Regions from separate parts of the Homo sapiens genome. Here region 2 is linked to region 1. The links are contacts of gene promoters, found by promoter capture Hi-C in human tissues and cell types (Jung and others, 2019). All regions are on one chromosome and are shown on one strand. Each heading gives the region's core, a stretch centred on a gene start or on the middle of the fragment in contact. The rest is flanking DNA. Distances are from core to core; before and after follow the strand shown. Region 1 holds the start of SLC31A2 (solute carrier family 31 member 2). Region 2 overlaps HSDL2 (hydroxysteroid dehydrogenase like 2).

Evidence for each region. Contacts are between HindIII fragments. The study calls those that stand out against the background at their distance.
Region 2: a contact is called between a fragment that was not itself captured here and the fragment with the promoter of SLC31A2 in region 1, in 2 of the 25 tissues and cell types used here (adrenal gland and heart right ventricle).

Annotation. Positions count from the first base shown.
Region 1 is chr9:113,149,757-113,155,690 of GRCh38, reverse strand. SLC31A2 (solute carrier family 31 member 2) reads right to left here and starts at 4,684. Exons shown (of 4, transcript NM_001860.3): 1 at 4,611-4,684. The coding sequence starts at 4,616. The HindIII fragment of the contact is 13,784 bases long and covers 1-5,934 here.
Region 2 is chr9:112,425,918-112,432,077 of GRCh38, reverse strand. The region is part of intron 6 of HSDL2 (hydroxysteroid dehydrogenase like 2); the gene reads right to left. Among named protein-coding and RNA genes, the nearest start is that of HSDL2, 49 kb to the right of the region's middle. The HindIII fragment of the contact is 3,172 bases long and covers 228-3,399 here.

The DNA of each region.
Region 1 (5,934 bases), core at 3,435-5,934:
CTATGGTCAAGGGAGTTTGAGAGAGACTGGAATTAGACAAAATAAGGTTTAATAGCTTTCTGCACTGCCAGAAGCCTGTACCCAGAACTCTCTCCTCCCCTTTTTCTCTTGCTGAGTGCCCTGTGGGAAAGAATCTCATAGACTATCCTCTAGGAAGTGCTAATTTAGAGCAACCCTCTTTTTTCATGCTGGGAGGGAAATGACACTGATTATTCTGTGCCAGGCACTCTTCTAAAAATGTTATATGTCTTAACTCACTCAATTTCAAGAGGGGAATTATTATTCTTAGCTCCATTTCATAGATGAGACTACTAAGGCAGACAGAGTTTAAGTAACTTGCCAAGTTGCTAGCTAGAATTTTGCCTGGGTGGGCTGGTTTCAGATTCTGTGCTCCTAACTGCTCTCAATGCAGCTTCTCAGGGCAGCACTGGAAGTCCAAGGGGCAGCTGTGACATGCCCAGGGTCACACTGTGAGTTGGTGGCAGCATCAGGACTGGATCCTGGGTCTTCTTACCAGGCCCTCATTTGGCAAGAGGAAAACAGATGCTACAACACAGAGAACAGCCCACTTTCTTGTGCAATACTAGACAGAGATGAGGGCTGTGCTGTCGTTCGGTTGTTTTAACATTTCAGGAAGATATGCAAACAGCAGAAGAAACTGATATGGCCACTTTGGAACAAAATATGGGAAGAAATTGGGGAGAGGAAGGAATGTATGAGAAAAAGCCTCTGTGCAATTAGGATAGTCATGCTTAGCCCCCGAAGGATGTTCAGCCAATAGCTGGCCCATATTTCCTGAGAAAGATGAAGAGTGCACCTTAAATAAAGGAAACAAACAAGGACCAGTCTGGGGATGGGACAGTAAGACCAGAGCCCAGGGACAACAGCGGACAACAGGATGAAAAGGCAAAGAGGATAGGGTGGGAGGGAGGACACTGGAGCGGATCACAGGTGTGGATGACGATGCTGTTATAGCCGGATCCACAGAGGCAGAGTCAGTCCCGGGTGAATCACTGGGAAACCACAGGCCAATCATGAGCTCCACACTGGCAAGCGGCTTAGTGTAGAGGGACAGCAGCAGCTGCTTAGACTCCAGGGCCTTATTAAAAGTACAGATTCCTGGGCCTCCTCAGGCCCCTAAATCAGAGTCCAGGGTCAGAGCCACAGGAGACAGGGAAGACATAGATTTTAACCAGCCCCCTTCAGGAGATTCTGAGGCTCAGTTCACTTTGTTGCAGTTTGAACAGAGGCAGCAAGGCTAGTGGTTAGGGGCACGGTCTCTAAAGCTGCACTGCCTGGATCTCCCTCCCAGCTCTGCCAGGAACCAGCTGCGTGGCCTTGAGCTGCTGACACGCAGAAAGCCCCCTGTGGACCCAGTCTCCTCGTCTGTAAGATGAGGACAGGACTCTAGGAACCCTTTCCCTTGGTTTGGCCTCACTTTCACAGGCTCCCATCTTGAACTCTATCTACTCTTCCTGAAACCTTGTAAAAGAAAAAAGTGCTAGCCTGGGCAACATGGCAAAACCCTGTCTCTACAAAAAATACAAAAATTAGTTGGGTGTGGTGGCATGTGCCTGTAGTCCCAGCTACTTGGGAGGTGCTGAGGTGGGAGGATCACTTGAGCCCGGGAGGTGGAGGTTGCAGTGAGCCAAGATCATGCCACTGCACTCCAGCCTGAGTAATAGAGTAAGACTCTGTCTCAAAAACAACAACAATAACAGTGAGTGTGCCTCTGTTTCCGGGTTGGATGGGGCACCACATCTATGCATCTCTCAGATTTGGACGCTGCAGCCTGGGGTTTGGTAGAGACCTGGGACTAACCTGGCTGTTCTACTCCCTACACTCAGCTAACATGCCTTTCAGTGCCAAAAGGGGTCTGACTTGTGTCACCAACCCCTGCCTGCGCCTACCCAGGGACTGGGCTCACTGGAGACCGTGGAGCTGCAGGACAGAGAAAGAAATGTGAAAGCATCTGATTGGACAGAACAGCCACACAGCTCTGTGTCTTCTGAGGGACTGCATGTGCCTGTACCACGTTCACCTTCCATTTATTATGTGTCACTCCCTGTGACATCTCCGCAGGTGCCTACTATTATTAACCTCTTTAACAAGGAAGGTACATAAAAGCCCACTTATCTCCCCATGGTCACTCGGCAATCAGGTACCCAGAGCCAGAGAGTTTTCTGGAAAGCCTGTACTGGTTCTCAAACCTTAGTGTACTGGGTGTTTCTGGGACAGGTGTTTCTAGGACAGGTGTTTGTTGGGGGTCACACTTTGAGAAATCATAGGAACCATGATGGTCTCCTGTCAACCAGTAGGGACTGGTCAAGTAAATTATATGAGAGCTTCAAAATGGAAATCTAGGCGGTCACATCACAACATGATAAAGATCATGTTGAAGACTTTAAAAAATGTTGAAGAGTTTAAAAATAAGAATAGCTTTTACCCCCCACCCCCAATGGCACTAGCTCAATGTAAAAAGCTGACACAGTACCGAAAAGAAAGTAAAAAATCATTTTGAGTCTTACTACTCAGAGATCTCTCCTGTTAGGCTTTCAAAAAAAAAAAAAACATTTTGACACAGCAAAATGTTTACGCAAGATTGATATACAAAACCAAACAGGTACAAACAATACTGTGAAACTCCATTTACACCGGAGATGGCCTCATCCTCAGCAGAAGCCTCTAGCACCATCTCTGCCAGGTAGAGGTAGGGGTGACACCCATCACCCCTTCTCTGAGTCCATTTGGTAAAGCAGATGGTATGAATGGAATGTCCCTAGTGGCTAATTAATCAGTCAGGGAGTTGCCATAACTGGTTTCCTTCTATCATCCTTGGGCCTGGGCCAGTTATCTTAGGAGCCCAAAACAGCCCAGACATGTTTTGCCATAGACCTGAACACCCACAGAACAGTAAGAGTAATTTGAAAGATTTCTTTTTGTTGTGCTAGGTCTGTGCAGACCCTGGCGATACAGAGATGAATGGGACAAGTCTTTGGCCCTTAGGGAGCTACCTGTCTATGAGGGGGGACATTTAAGTGAGCAAATAATTACAACAGGTTGTAGGTCAGAGAAAGGGAGGCACAGTGGAGGCTCCCTGGGGGTGCTGGGGACCAAGCCGCCTGAGAGACACCTGCCCTGGCCAGAGAGCAGTTGGCTAGGATGGTTCTGAAGCCAGAGAAGCAGGAGATAGCTGGGAAGATGAACTGTATGGTTTGTTCAGAGCTGGAAACACCCACGGAGTCCGAAGCCCCAGAGGGACGAAGACTCACCTGTCACTCAACCCTTTCTACTTTTGCCTTTTTGCTAGAGGAAAAGATGGAAGTCAGCACACCCTGACTTGAGAGAAGCGATCTGGGCTACAGTTTTCAATTAAAGGGCTTTGTGGTCAGATAGGCAAGGGGCAGGGCCCCAATCTTGTTTTCCTACTTGGGATGAATCTTGGCCTCTGAAAGTTTAACTGATTTGTGCTTTTTTCAGGGTGGGGCTGTGGTGAAGGAGGGAGCAATCCCTGGAACTTGTTTTCTTCTATATTTCTTCATTTGGGGTTACTTACACTTTGAGAAAAGCTTCCTTATTTGTAAACAAGGGTTGGGAAGGAGATGAAGGTCCCAGTTGCTAGGCTGACTGGCTGGGGAACTTTTGCAAGTGCTTTCCATCTATTTCCCTTTTTAAAGGACGGCTGATCATTTCACTAAATGGCCTACATACACTTCCTATATCTTTTTTTTTTTGTTTTGTTTGTTTGAGGACGTCTTGTTCTGTTGCCCAGGCCGAAGGTCATGGCTCACTGCAGCCTGGAACTTCTGGGCTCAAGCAATCCTCCTCATCCTGCCTCAGCCTCCGAGTAGCTGGGATTACAGGCGCCTGCCACCACTTGTGGCTAATTTTTGTAGAGACGGGGTCTAGCTATGTTGCCCAGGCTGAGCTTCCTGTATCTTAAATTCTATGACATTCTTCATGGGATGAAGAAAATGATATGACTTCTTCAAAGACGAACGAGTCTTGCAAGCTGTCGTTCTCTCCAGCCCAGGTGAACCCTACCAAGAAAAACAGCTTGTCTGAAACGCTGTTTTCTGACTGAAAGTGTAGGGAAGCTGGAAAGTAGCTGGTTCTGTTTTATTCCCCGAAGAATCAGGCTACAAACTTGACAAGAGCAGGGCCGGGGATGTGCGCTCGGTGTGCGCGCGGGGCTGCGGGCTGAAATGCGCCGGGGGTTTCCCTTTCGTGGAAGCCTTCCTGGAATCTCCCAAGGCGCTGCTCTCCGCCCTGGGGCGCCGGCCAGAGGTCCGGGGCCGGGGGCCCCGGACCCAGCTGTCTTCAGCCACCGCGCCCCCACTCTCAAGCCGCGCCACCGCGGGCGCTCGGTAACTGCTCGCCTAGCCGGACTGCCTCCCAGCAGGAGGGACAAATAAAGAGGAAAACCACAGAGCCACCGCAACCTATACCTGCCGCGTCCCCCAACCCTGTTCCAGCTGTTGGCAATGCTGCCAACACACCCTTCACCAGCCCCGGGCCAGCGGCAGCGAGGATTCGGGGTGCCGAGATGGCAGCTCCAGGAGACCCCGCCCCAACCGCCCACCCTCTTCACCGTAGCGCCCGGCCCTTACCGCCATGGTGAGTGCGCAGGGCGGGCGCCAGGGCCGCGTCTGCTCGCTCGGGTCTCCTCGCTCCGAGTCAGTTCAACCGCCGCCGCCGCCGCCGCCGCGATAGCTACCCTGGCCGCACGGATCACGTGGTCCGGGCGAGGCGGCGCGCGGGCGCCTGGGAGTTGTGGTCCCCACACGCGCCCTACTTCGGCGTCCTCGGGCGCGCCCCCTGGCCGAGACCCAGGCGCCTCGCCCCAGGTTCCCAAGGGCTGAGGCTTGGCGTTCCCGGAGTCGCGAGCGAGAGGGACCACCTGCTGCCCTCTGTCTTCGCCCTTCCTGTTTTGCACTTGGCTTGTCTTGGCGATTATGAGAATGTTTATTGCTCATTGTAATAAACTACCCCAAGCGTAACATATATTGAGTTGAAATGGGCAAGTCCGTGCTATGGACGCAATAGCAACACATTTGGAGTAAATTAAGTCAATTATGCCCTAGATTTTTAGTGTAGTCATTACAAGATAATTACATTTTTCTTTTTAGAAAAATATTTTCCAATCTGATAAGCCAAAAGGAATACACCCGTGTAATTTTGTTTTTCTTTGATTACTAGGGTAGTAAACTATTTTTCTTACGGGTACTTCCATTTCTGTGTATTGCCTGTTCATTTCACTGATCCAGTTTTTTGATGGGGAGTTTCTTGTAGGGTGAGGGATTTTTAATGGTTATTGATTCTTAAGCATATTTAGGAACCCTTTGCTAATCAGCCTATGAGTAAAGAGGCTCTTCAGAGAAACCTTACTAAGGACAGTATTAGCAGAGACCTTGAGCCTGGAGCTAACCTCAGTTCACATCCATACGCATCAACTATTGGCTTTGGGACCGTAGGCAAATAGCTTACATCTCTGAACCTCAGTTTTCTGGTCAGTAAAATGAAAATAATAATAAAATCTATGTCATAGGGATTAAATGAAAACATACATGTTAAATTATCATGTAACCTGGCAGTGGGAGCTTGTTCAGTAAATGGTAGAATCCTCAGGGTCACACAGCTTTTTTTCTTTTCTTTGAAACAGAGTCTCGCTCTGTCGCCCAGGCTGTAGTGCAGTGGCGCGATCTTGGCTCACTGCAACCTCCATCTCCCGTGTTCAAGCAATTCTCCTGCCTCAGGCTCCCGAGTAGCTGGGACTACAGGCGCGCACCACCATGCCTGGTTAATTTTTGTATTGTTAGTAGAGACGGGGTTTCACCATATTGGTCAGGCTGGTCTTGAAATCCTGACCTCGTAATCTGCCCGCCTCGGCCTCCCAAAGTGCTGGGATGCTGGGATTACAGACGTGAGCCATCT
Region 2 (6,160 bases), core at 564-3,063, 720 kb after region 1:
AAACCCCGTCACTACTAATAATACAAAAAAATTAGCCAGGTGTGGTGGCGCACGCCTGTAATCCCAGCTACTCAAGAGGCTGAGGCAGGAGAATCGCTTGAACCTGGGAGGCGGAGGTTGCAGTGAGCTGAGATCGCACCACTGCACTCCAGTCCAGCCTGGGCAACAGAGCAAGACTCCGTCTCAAAAAAAAAAAAAAAAAAGAAAGAAATACCTGAGACTGGGTAATTTATAAAAGAGGTTTAACTGGCTCACAGTTCTGCATGCTGTACAAGCATGGCTCCAACATCACTTGGCTTCTGGGGAGGCCTTGGGGAGCTTGTACTCACGGTGGAAGGTGAAGAGGGAGCAGGCACGTCACATGGCAAAAGCAGGAACAAGAGAGCCAGGTGGTGTGCTACACACTTTTAAAAACGAGATGAGAACTCACTCACTATGGTGAGGGCAGTACCAAGGAGGATGGTGCTAAACCGTTCAGGAGAAAGCTGCCCCCATGATCCAATCACCTCCCACCAGACCCCACCTCCAACACTGGGGGTGACATTTTGACATGAGATTTGGGTGGAGACAACATCCAAACTGTATCACTCCCCAAGCTCCTTCTTCAGTCGGCTTTCATCTCCTCTTTCATCTTCCTTTCATCTTCCTACCTTACTCTCCTATGTGGGTCTTCCTCTTCTTCCCAACCTTTCAATGTTGAAATGGACAATAGTCCTTTCTCTTCTACTCACTGCCTAGATGGTATCATGTAGTTTTGTGGCTTTTTATATGTTCTATATGCTGATAACCCACAGATTTTTTTATCTCCAACCTGGACCGCTCTCCTGACCCTCATTCACCAGGCCTGCTGCCTAATGACTGTCCCCACTTGGATGTTCAAACACAACACCCCACACAATTCCTAAGCTTGCCCTCCATCTGCTCTATCTGCAGCTTTCTCCATCTCAGTTCCTGGCGACTCCACTGTTCTAGTAACTCAAGCCAGAAATCTTTATTTTTTTTAAATTTTTTTTTTTTTTTTTTTTTGAGTTGGAATCTCACTCTGTCACCCAGGCTGGAGTGCACTGGCGTGATCTCGGCTCACTGTAACCTCCACCTCCCGGGTTCAAGCAATTCTTCTGCCTCAGCCTCCTGAGTGGATGGGACTACAGGCACGCGTCACCATGCCAGGCTAATTTTTTGTTTTTAGTACAGATGGGGTTTCACCATGTTGGCCAGGCTGGTCTCGAACTCTTGACCTCAGGTGATTCACCCACCTGGGCCTCCCCAAAGTGCTGGGATTACAGATGCGAGCCACCGCACCAGGCTATTTTCCAGAAATCTTGGAGTCACTGTTGACTCTTTCTCTCACATCCCAAAGGCAATCCATCAGCAGATACTGTTGGTTCTACCTTGAAAATATATCAGAATCTGGCCACTGTCCACCACCTTTACTGCTGTCATCCTGGTCACAGCCACCAAAATCTGTGCCTCAGTTCCTGCAATAGCCTCCTAACTGTTCCCCCCTTTGCCCCTCAAGAATCTAGGCTCATCAGAACAGCCAGAGAGGTTTTTTAAACATTTAGGTTTGATCAGGTCCCTTCTCTGCTTGAAAACCTGAAACAGCTCCTCATTTCACCCAGAGTAATCTAAGACCAAGTCTTGGCAAGGGCCTATAACATCTGACCCCCATTTCCTTATGGACATCGTCTCATTTTCTACTCCTCTTCCCTCACTCTGGCGACACTGGTCTTCTCCCTGCTCTTGCATCATGCCAGCCATACTAGTCCACAGGACCTATCCACTGCTGCTTCCTCTGCCTTGCATGTTTTCCCTCAGATAACCTTTGGCTAACTGTATTACCCCCAAGACTAACGGTATGCTCAAATGTCAAAGTCTATGCTCAAACGTCACCTTCTCAGAAAGGCCAAACCTACCTTCCCTGGTGGTCTGACGGTTAGGACTTGGCACTCTCAGAAAGGCCAAACATCTCTTTTCTTTCTTTTTTTTTTTTTGAGATAGGGTTTAACTCTGTTGCCCAGGCTGGAGTGCAGTGGTATGATCACGGCTCACTGCAGCCTTGAACTCCTAAGGCTCAGGTGATCCTCCTGCCTCAGCCCCCTGAGTAGTTGGGACGACAGGCGCACACCACCACACCCTGCTACTTTTTGTAGATATGGAGTTCTGCCATGTTGCTCAGGCTGGTCTCGAACTCCTGGGCTCCAGCGATCGGCCTGCTTTGACCTCCCAAAGTGTTGGGATTACAAGCAGGAGCCAACACTCCTGGCCTAATGCCAAACCTTTCTACTCTATTTTAAATTGCCACCTTCCTTCCTCAATGGCTGAGACTCCAATCCCCCTTCCTTTGTTCTGTTTTTCATAGCATATTACCTTTAGCATACTATATACTTTGCCATTCATCATGTTGTCTATTGTATCTCTCCCAATTAGACTATAAGTTCCATAAGGACAGCGATTGATATCTCTTTTGTTCTCTGATGTATCTTCAGCAAACAGAGCACAGCTTGGCATAAAATAAGTGTCCGATGAATGTTTATTGTATGAATAAAATTTAAAATTCTTAAGAGTCAAAGAAGGCTTTTTCTGACTTTGTTACCCCAGGATCCCAAAGACCTACAGGTTAGGGAAGTAGAGGAAAGGGCAGAGGGGAGGACAAAGTACAAATGGTGGTAACAAACTCTTAAATCTCCCACACTAAATGGTAAACTCCTTGAGGGTAAGGATTGTGTCACATTCATCTTAGTACCCATGTTGCCTTGCACCGAGTAGATAGTTAATAAATTATCTGTCAAATGCATAACAACTGAATAGTGCAGAGAACTGTGCCTGGCATGTAAGAATGAATGTTTGGAAAATGAATGAATGTAAAGTGAGAAGTCAGCTGGGCACAGTGGCTCATGCCTGTAATCCCCGCACCTTTGGAGGCTAAGGCAGGCAGATCTCCTAAGGTCAGGAGTTCAAGATTAGCCTGGCCAACATGGTGAAACCCCATCTCTACTAAAAATACAAAAATTAGCTGGGCATGGTGGCCTGCGCCTGAAATCCCAGCTACTTGGGAGGCTGTGGCCTGAGAATCGCTTGAACCTGGGAGGCAGAGGTTGCAGTGAGCCAAGATCGCACCACTGCACTCCAGCCTGGGCAACAGAGCAAGACTGTCTCAAAAATCAAAAAAGAAAGTGACAAGTAACATAAGGGAGGTACAAAGAGGGAAAATAATATGTTAGAACTTTGTTACCTCAGAGACCTCCCTTTTTAACTTCCTAACTCTCTGTATCAACTTTAATGACAACAGTGATGTGAGGAAGGGTAATTGAGAAAGGGTGAGAAAAGGCAAAGAAGTTGAAAAAGAGAGGCACCATAAAGTGTAAGCTTTTAAGTTTTTTGGCTGTGACCCATAATAAGTAACATTTTCATATATGAAACAAAAGCTTATGAAACAATACTGACCCTTCCTCCATGCAATCCACTCTAATATTTTCTATTCGATTCCACTAGAAATAAAACAAAACAACAACAAAACAACTCTGGCTGCTACTCACTAAATCAATTTCACAATCCACTAAATTGATTTCATGCCTCACCAACGAGTCTTGACATATAGTTTGAGAAATATTGAAGAAGTGCCTTTTTCACTCTCATCTTTTTCCCCACTGCAAAAAACAACACTCTTCAGAAAATCTTAAAAGAATTGTCTGCTACAGAAACATAAAGGAAACAAAGAAGCAATAAAACATGGTTTTGGTCCCACAGTGAGGACCAGGGAAGAAAGGAGTCTTGGTCAAATTGCAGAAGAAAGGAATTTAACCAAACTGATTCCTGGACTACTTAGAAGAAAAAGAAAGATGGTGATTGGAAAGCTGGCTGCAACTGTCAAATATTCCTAAGAGTTACCTCAGCAGCATGCCCCAGTACTCAGTAAATTCTCACCCATAGTCCTTTGTTTCCCATCGTCTACACCACAGGCCACAGAATCTTCAGTACTGCTTGGAGCCGGGGAACTCCCTTTATCCAGTACATAGCAGATAGGAAGCAACTCTGGATATGTTCCACACAGCTATATGCGGCAGTTCAGTTCAAGAGTACCACCAGGGCTTTAATAATACTTTGCATAAATGCTGGATTAAATATGCTTTTAAAACCTAACTTCTACCAACCTAGACATACACTAGGTAAAAAGGCCAAAGAAGTATCCCCAATACCCATGTCTGCTGCGTGATAACTGTCCAATCAATAGTTGTTGGATGATGAATGAATAAATAAAATAATGCCAGAAGAAAGAAGAATGGGAATAAACAATATACTAATATAAGGGTCCTTACAGGATATAGAAAGATGTTAAATGATACGACTGGGAGAATCAGGAAAATCTGGAATGACAGAACTCCTATAAGATAAACGACCTGGTTTTTCAAGAAATAAGTGGCAAGAAAAAAAATGAGTGTAACTGCTTTAGATTAAAAACACTTGAGACTTATCAAACAAATGCAATGTATGGAACAATTTAGATCCTGATGTAAATAAACCAACTGCAAAGAAAACATTTATGAGACACTTGAGGGAATTTGAACACTGACTAGATATTAGATGATATTAAGGTATGTTTGTTAGCTATGATAATAATTTTGTCTTTTTAAAGAGACCGAATCATTTAAAAATACATATTGAAGTATGTACAGATGAAATGATGCTATGATTGAGATCTGCTTAAAAATAATGTGGCGAGGGCCAGGCGCATTGGCTCAGGCCTGTAATCCCAGCACTTTGGGAGGCCGAGGCGGGTGGATCACTTGAGGTCAGGAGTCCGAGACCAGCCTGGCCAACATGGCAAAACACCCTCTCTACTAAAGATACAAAAATTAGCCGGGCACAGCGGTGGGCGCCTATAATCCCAGCTACTCGGGAGGCTGGGGCAGGAGAATCACTTAAACCTGGGAGGTGGAGGCTGCAGTGGGCTGAGATCGTGCCACTGCACTCCAGCCTGGGTGACAGAGTGAGACTCTGCCTCGAAAAAATAATTAATCAATTAATTAATTAATTAATAATATAATAATAATCTGGTGAGGTTAGAAGTGGAGTTAAAGGGAGATGGAGATGTGAGGGCTGGTAAAACTAGATTGGCCATGTGGTGAAATCGCTGAAGCGGAATAGTACGTGATGTACTACTCTCCCTACTTGTATACATGTTTGTACATATGTTTGACTTTTTTCATAATTAAAAGTTTGAAAAATATGCAACAAAGGGCTTTAGAGGTTATTTATAATACCTAATTTTATATAAGGGGAAGCTAGGTACAGACAGCTACTGCAGCTCACACAGCTAAGAAGAATATGTGCAATACAGAAACTTAATTATTTTTATTTTTTCGAGGGACTGGTTCTTTATTTCATAAAGACACTTGTCAATATTCAGTATCAAAACTGCTGCACTATCGATTTTTCTTTCTCCCAGTTGGCCCCAAAGAGACCACATCACAGGCTAGTACATTTTAAACCAATAAGCTGCAGGATGTACACCTAACAGACTGCATAGAAACCTTGCCAGGGCAAGGAGCAGTGGCTCATGCCTATAATCCCAGCACTTTGGGAGACCAAGGCGGGTGGATCACCTGAGGTCAGGAGTTTGAGACTAGCCTGGCCAAAATGGCGAAACCCTGTCTCTACTAAAAATACAAAAATTAGCCAGGCATAGTGAAAGGCGCCTGAAGTCCCAGCTACTTGGGAGACTGAGGCATGAGAATCGCTTGAACCCGGGAGACAGAGGTTACAGTGAGCTGAGATCATGCCACTGCACTCCAGCCTGGGCGACAGAGCAAGACTCCATCTCAAAAAAAAAAAAAAAAAAAGAAGGCTTACCAGAAAGTGGGGATTGTGTAGGAAAGAAACCTTAAAAGAAGAGCAAACTGCCAGCCCACGGACTACAGAGGCTATCACAGCCAGATGGGGGTGACCAGGGTGCCACAAACCCAAAGAAGCAAAGAGAAACTGAATAATTTTAAATACTAATGTGATGTTTGGATATTTTATCAAAATTACTTCTAGCAGGGCACAGTAGCTCACGCCTGTAATGCCAACAATTTGGGAGGCCGAGGTGCAAGGATTTCCTGAGCCCAGGAGTTCGAGACCAGCCTGAATAACATGGCAAGACCCCATCTCCACACAC